Linked DNA regions of Homo sapiens: region 1 is linked to region 2. Evidence: promoter capture Hi-C in human tissues and cell types (Jung and others, 2019). All regions are on one chromosome and are shown on one strand. The core of a region is centred on a gene start or on the middle of the fragment in contact, and the rest is flanking DNA. Distances in the headings are between cores, read along the strand shown. Region 1 holds the start of LOC124907862 (a long non-coding RNA gene). Region 2 holds the start of POU3F3 (POU class 3 homeobox 3).

Region 1 (3,228 bases), core at 617-3,116, 1.8 Mb after region 2:
TCAATGATTTTCAAAAATGTCACCTTCTCTATGTAAAGAATGGCTTTTTGTTTTCTTTAAAAAAAGAATAAAGCATTTGTATTGAAACACTCTATGGGATGGCTGCCACAGGAATCTGTGCATTGCTCCACAGGTAGAAACCAATTGATCTTCAAGTGGGCAAGTTGGTCTTACCCCAATTTTGAGCAGATACATATTGTATCATCAAAACCTGTGGGGCAGTTGTCATGACTTGAGCATGGCAGGATGAATAAAATGCTCCCAGAAAAAAATCATTATATTTAGAACTTTCTCTTTTTAGCGAAGGAACAGAAACAGGTTTATTGAAGTCCATCAAACCTTCCAGTTTTTTTAAAAAGAAATACATGTTGCTGTATCCTATTGAATTCTGGCATCTTAAGAGAGGACTAATAAAGAGTATAAACATTTCTCTCTGTGCAAACATGTATGAGATTCAGAAAAAATGATAGCTCCTAGATCAAACACAAAACCCTTATCAGGCTAGCCCCTAAAAGCACTAAGAACATCAAAAGCAGTGTTTAGTCCACATGTCAAAACAAAACAAAACAAAATAAAATGAAATCGTTGATACCTAGAACAGTTTTGCTTTAATAAAACAAATCATATACATCCTGTGGATTACATAGATTCTGCGTTAAGTTTGCATTTTAGCTGCTATTTTGACATCCCTAAGCGGATGGATGAGAAGAAAGTATAGAGTGGTACCAAGCACCCACATGACAAAGGGAGACTGGAGAAAAACAAAACAAAACAAACATCCAAACCACAATAATAATTAAGAATGGATCTGCCAAATATCTTACTGCAGTATCTCACTTGGTCCTTTCAACTATTGTGTTAGGTATTATGATAGATCCCATTTTATTAAGGTTCATAAAGACAAAACAAATCAGTTGAGGGTCTAACAGGTAGTAAACAGTGGAACAGGGATTAAAATTCGGATCTATCACATCAAGGTTTCTGCCCCTAATCAGGATTGTGTCATGAAAGGGAAAGCAAGGTATTCATGGGCACACTTCGTGCCAGAGACTTTGCATACAATGTTCCATTTGATCTCCACAGCATTAATCTTTCTCAACACGGTTGGAAGTTGAAAAGTATATGTTGAAAGAATAAATGTAATAACAGAAAAGAGGGTGTTTTATGTCTGGGAAAAATAATGGCAGAAGAGAAGGAAATAGGAACAAAAGGCAGAAGGCAGAGATCAGACCAGAGGTAACTGCGCTAAATGTAACATCACCACCCTCAGTCCAAGAGGAATATTATTTCTACTATTTGTGGGATAAATATTCTAGAATTATTATTTAATGCTTAAGGGACAGGATTACCCCAGTAGTTATGAAGATTTGGGGGAATATCCAAACATCTGGGTTCAAAGAAAAAGACATCTAGGTGGCAAAAGTCTGGCACAAGTGGTTCTGTTCCTCAAAGGCATTTTAATCATTGTGTCATTGTGGTTCTGCTTTCTTTGACAAATAAAGCAATAAAGCATTTTCCCCTAATAAGTTAAATTGGAATTAACACAGGAGGTAGCAACTCAAATTTCAGAATGACACTTTTCCTTTTTTGAAAGGGTCTCACTCTGTCACCCAGGCTGGAACAGAGTGGCGCGATCATGGCTCACTGCAACCTTAAACTCCTGGGCTCAAGTAAATCTCTCTGCTCAGCCTCCTAAGTAGATAGGACTAGAGGCATGCACCGCCACACCCAGCTAATTTTCTTTTTAACTTTTTAGTAGAGAGAAGGCCTCACTATATTGCCCAGGCTGGTCTCAAACTCCTGGCTTTAAGTAATCTTCCCCCTTTGGCATCCCAAAGTGCTGGGATTACAAGCATGAGGAACTGTGTCCACCCAGAATGACACATTTTTTAGAATAGAAGAGAATATCTAGAAAAATATTATCCTTCAAAGCAGTCAATTTTTTAAAAACTACAGCAACATTGCAGGAGTTAATTGCAGATGCCATCTAGCTCCATTTCTGTATCGTATTATCTCCTACTGATTGTAGTAGTTAGGCTACATTGGGTGCAAGTAACAAGAAAAGAAGAGCAGGCTAAACAGCCAGGAGCTTAGTTCTCGCCTTGATGAGCCCAGTGGAATGTAGGTGCTGGCACAAGTTTGTCAGCCTCCTGATGCCACTGGGAGCCCACAGAACAGGGCAAGCTGCATGCCCAGCAGTGCATACATGCTCAACAACAAAAGAAGGAGACAGACAGGAAGACAAAGTGGTTTTGTGTGGAGACATTTTGTCTTTTTATCAGGAAGGGAACCTTCCTCCCACCTGTCTCCTGGCACACCACCATTTGTTCCTTCATGCTTCTAGTGGATCTCGTCTTGAGTTCAAATCATCCGCACTGTCCCATGCTCACTTGTTACCCAGTCACTGGCCACGGGGAAGGAAATTTGGGTAACAAAGTGATATCATCAGGAATCCTCCCAGACCTGGCTCATCTTGACTTCAAGGGATCTCAACCAGCTGCCTGACAAATCAAAGTTGCATTGACAAGGATACCTGCAGGTGGGATAGGATAGCTAGCTGCTGTGTAACCACTAAGCTGTCTGCATGTTGATGACAGAATTATTATTTCACAATGAGGAATTGTTTGGTTGAAATCAGTGTAAGCCTCTTTATCCAAAGATAACAGAACAAAAAAATTCATTTTAAAACATCCATATTTACCTTTACAAGTAAAACAAATAATGAGGCCACATTTATTGAAGGCAATTGGAATAAAAATGTAACTTAAAACTTGAGATTGTATTTCCTTTCAAATGACGATATGCGTATTTCAGACCACATTTTAATCTGCAGTTTTGAAATATGCAAAGTGCTTTTTATACTAAGAAAATAGAATGATTAATATAACTACTACATAAACTACATCCTTTTTCTAGTAAAACATCAGTTTTCTTCAATGTAGTCAGTATTGCACCATTATTGTAAAAGGCCATGGACAGTAACAATATGTTTTTGAAAACTAAATCCTAGATGGCAGTGACAATGTGTAAATGTACTCATTTATATATAATGAAATGTTAAATTCCTAAAAGGCAACTCTAATTAAATGGAAGAGGCAGAAACTCCACTGCTTGGTTGCATTCATTTGTCATACATCTCAATAAGACACAATTACTTATTTAATGTTTTAATAATTTGGTTAATGCTGTACCACCCTTACTACTATAAACAACGAACATGGTAACTTC
Region 2 (3,123 bases), core at 175-2,674:
GGTAGGGGTTAGAAGCCGCCGTGGCCATGCCGCTCCGCTCCCGCCACCCCACCGCCGCCACCACCGCCGCCGCCGCCGCAGCAGCAGCCGCGGCCGCCGCCGCCGCCGCCGCCGCCGCGCCCCCCGCCTCCCGCCTCCTCCCCCCCTCCTTCCCCGCCCCCGCCCCGGGCCCCCGCCGGCCCCGCCGCCTTCGCCGCCTCCTCCTCCGCCGCCGCCTCCGCCCCCGCCGCCGCCGCCGCCGCCGCGGCCCCCGGCTGCAGCTGCAAGGCCGCTCGGCAGGGCGCGGGGGTCGCCGGCCGGCCTTGGTCACCAGCAGCAGCAGCAGCCGCAGGAGCAGCGCTCTGGGGAGGGGGGCTCGCTTCTCGGGGTGCGCTCCGTGGCCACCCCCTTCAGGGGGGGTCGTGGCCGCCCCCCAGCCCCGGCGCGCTGGGCTCGCTCCAGCGGGGCTCGCCGGGCGGGGCGGGGACCTGCACTCGGGGCGCTCTCCCGGGACGCGCGGGCTCCCGCTCCTCCTCCTGTCCTCGGGCGAGCCCGGACTCTGCCCGGTCGCGGGGCTCCGTCCACCTGCTAAGTGAAGGTTTCACGGGAGATAACAAAGAAAGAAGCTGCTCCTTTCTTCCTTAGCCAAATTACGGATGACCAGCAACCGGCCCGCTCCTTCTCTTGTCCGCTCTCTCCTCTCCTCTCCTCTCCTCCTCAGGAACACATTTCACTCGTTTTCCCTTAGAGTAGTAAAACTTTTTCGTCCTTGAAGGCGTGGTGCTGCTGGCTGCTCGCGAGTGCGGAGAGGGGAGGCTGGCTCCTGCTCTCCCCCTCTGGTCCTCTCGTTTCAAGTTTTGTTCTGTCCTAGGAAAACTTCTTGCGATGGTGCATTTCTCTGAAGTTGCTATTGCCGGAGCTCTTGGTTGCCTCTGAAACAAGAGTCCTTTTTCATTCTCCTCGCAACAGTCACAGTCTGATGCGACATCTTTCCTTTTGGGCAGAAATTAGGAAACAAATATAACAAGGAAAAAATTGAACAGGAAAAAAAATGATGTCGAATCGCTCTGTTACCTTGTTGCTGACGGTTGGGGTTGGTGTTTTATTTTTTTCCCAGCAGTTGTCTGGAGAAGGAGGAGGAAGAAGAGTGCATTGGTGGAGGTGGAGGTGTGTGTGTGCATATAGGGGATCGATCCTTGATACACAACAACTCCAGTGGGCACGCTGCACGGCTCGTAGAGTGCACCGACGGCGGGCGCTGGCGCTGGCCGTGCTGGAGCAGAGTTGCAGCAGGAGCTCGCTCTGCGCCCTCGTTCGCGCTCTCTTTCCCTCTCTCACTTTTCCTCTCCCTCCCTCTCTCTCTCTCCCTCTCTCGGGCGCCCGCTCTCGCTCCGATCTGACAGTTCGCTCTCTGTCCCTCCCTCTCAGAGCGGGGACTGTCGAATGTTTACCCTCCGCCGCGAGCGCGCACCCACCACCACACTTTCCCAAATACAAGGAAGTCGAGCACCAGGGCCCCCGCTGATTGGCTACCCGCTGGGTGATTGGCAGGCTCGGAATGACTGGCTCAGGACGCGAGGCCCCCCTTCCGGCCGTTCCGATTGGTTGCTTTTTAATTTAGGCAGAGCGTCGTAGAAGCTGGAAATCTGTCGTCCTCCAGCCTCCCTCCCCCTCACCACTTTCCCCTCCCCGCCCCTCCCCCGCCGCCCCCTCCGCCACATCTTAACTCTTAGTGTCCGGCCCAGACGTTGGCGTTCCCTCGGCGGCTCTGGGCGTTCGCAATAGGTCTGGGCGGGGGGAAGAAAGGGGAGATAAAAGGGAGGGAGGGACGAGAGGGGGGAAGAGAATCAGAAGGAAAACGAAGGGGGAAACATGAAAAATAGCAACCTGCCCACCCCACCTAGTACGCGTCGGGTTGCTCACCCCCTTACCCCCGCCCCGCCAGAGATTTGTAAAGCGCGCGGCACGGATGTACCATTCAAGCTAATACCTATAGACAGATGTGTCCCCAGTGGTTTCAAAGTTTCCTCTTCCCTTCACCAGCCGGCCCCCTTCTCTGATCGGCGGGGGTGGGAAGCGGGGGCTCGCATCGCCAAGAGCTCTGGTCGTGGCCACGCTCCTTGGAAATCCGCCACCGCAACTTTCCGCAGCCGTTGCGCGCCGGCGGCAGCCCCCTTTGTTTAAGTTCTCGGATGCCATCATCTGGGAAACCTGCAGCCCAGGACCAGCGCGGTGCCCGCGCGTGCGAGACGGACCGCTCGCTGCCGCCGCTCCCTGGCTCCTCCACCCCCTCTCTCCCTCCTTCGCTCTCCCTCCCTTCCTCCCTCCTCCCTCCTCTGGGATTCGTGCAAGTAGCGTGCGTGCCCTTGTGAGTTTGGAGGGTGCCGGTCAGCGGAGCCGTGCGATGTATTTGAAAAGCAATCAGTCCGACCTTCCCCCATAGATTCATCGTAAGTGTATTCGACCCCAATGGCTTTAGGAATTCCCTGTGGCAGCAGGAGCCGGGCGAAAGAACCGGGATCGGCTAGCCGCGCCCTTCTCTGCTCCACCGCTTCCTCGTGTGTGTGTGTGTGTGTGTGTGTGTGTGTGTGTGTGATTAGCGGTGGGGGGGTTTGCTCGCTCTCTATTCTTAGGCATGGTGGTGCTTTTTTTTCTTTCCTTTCTGTCTCAGATGGATTTGCGTGGTGGATGGGGCTGGCGGCGACAAATGCTTTCTCAGCTCTAACCCAGCTGAAAGAGTTAAGGGGGATGGGAGGGGGAGTGCACCCGGTAGGCGAGAGAAGCGGGGGTGGGGTGGGGTGGGGTGGGGGGACGCGGCCAAGCGGAAACGCTGCACAGAGGAACCTCAGCGAACCAAGAAAAAAGAGAAAGTGGCAACGAAAACAAGGGCAAATTGAGCCCTCCTCGGGGATTTCCAATGAACTAACCCAACTCGGACATTCAATAAATACATGGCTCTTAATGAGCGTGCGTGTGCGTGCACCCCGCACCCCTAGCTGCGGGTGCGCCCGCTTGCGCCCGCCGCCCCCAGCCAGAGCCTGCATCTGGCAGTCCCGAGCCCGAGCGGCAGCCCAGGACGCAGCCGAGGAGCGGCCGCCGGTGCGCTCCGATTAAAATGTGAACGGGCCTGCCCTTCTCTCCCGC

Evidence for each region. Contacts are between HindIII fragments. The study calls those that stand out against the background at their distance.
Region 1: a contact is called between a fragment that was not itself captured here and the fragment with the promoter of POU3F3 in region 2, in 1 of the 25 tissues and cell types used here (IMR-90 fibroblasts).

What each region holds. Positions count from the first base shown.
Region 1 is chr2:103,012,973-103,016,200 of GRCh38, reverse strand. It overlaps LOC124907862 (a long non-coding RNA gene), which reads right to left and starts at 2,625. Exons shown (of 2, transcript XR_007087164.1): 1 at 2,303-2,625. The HindIII fragment of the contact is 5,284 bases long and covers 1-3,228 here.
Region 2 is chr2:104,852,416-104,855,538 of GRCh38, reverse strand. It overlaps POU3F3 (POU class 3 homeobox 3), which reads right to left and starts at 1,424. Exons shown (of 1, transcript NM_006236.3): 1 at 1-1,424. The coding sequence starts at 28. It also overlaps a transcript of PANTR1 not described here. RefSeq lists an enhancer at 1,231-1,820 and a silencer at 3,029-3,078. The HindIII fragment of the contact is 12,067 bases long and covers 1-3,123 here.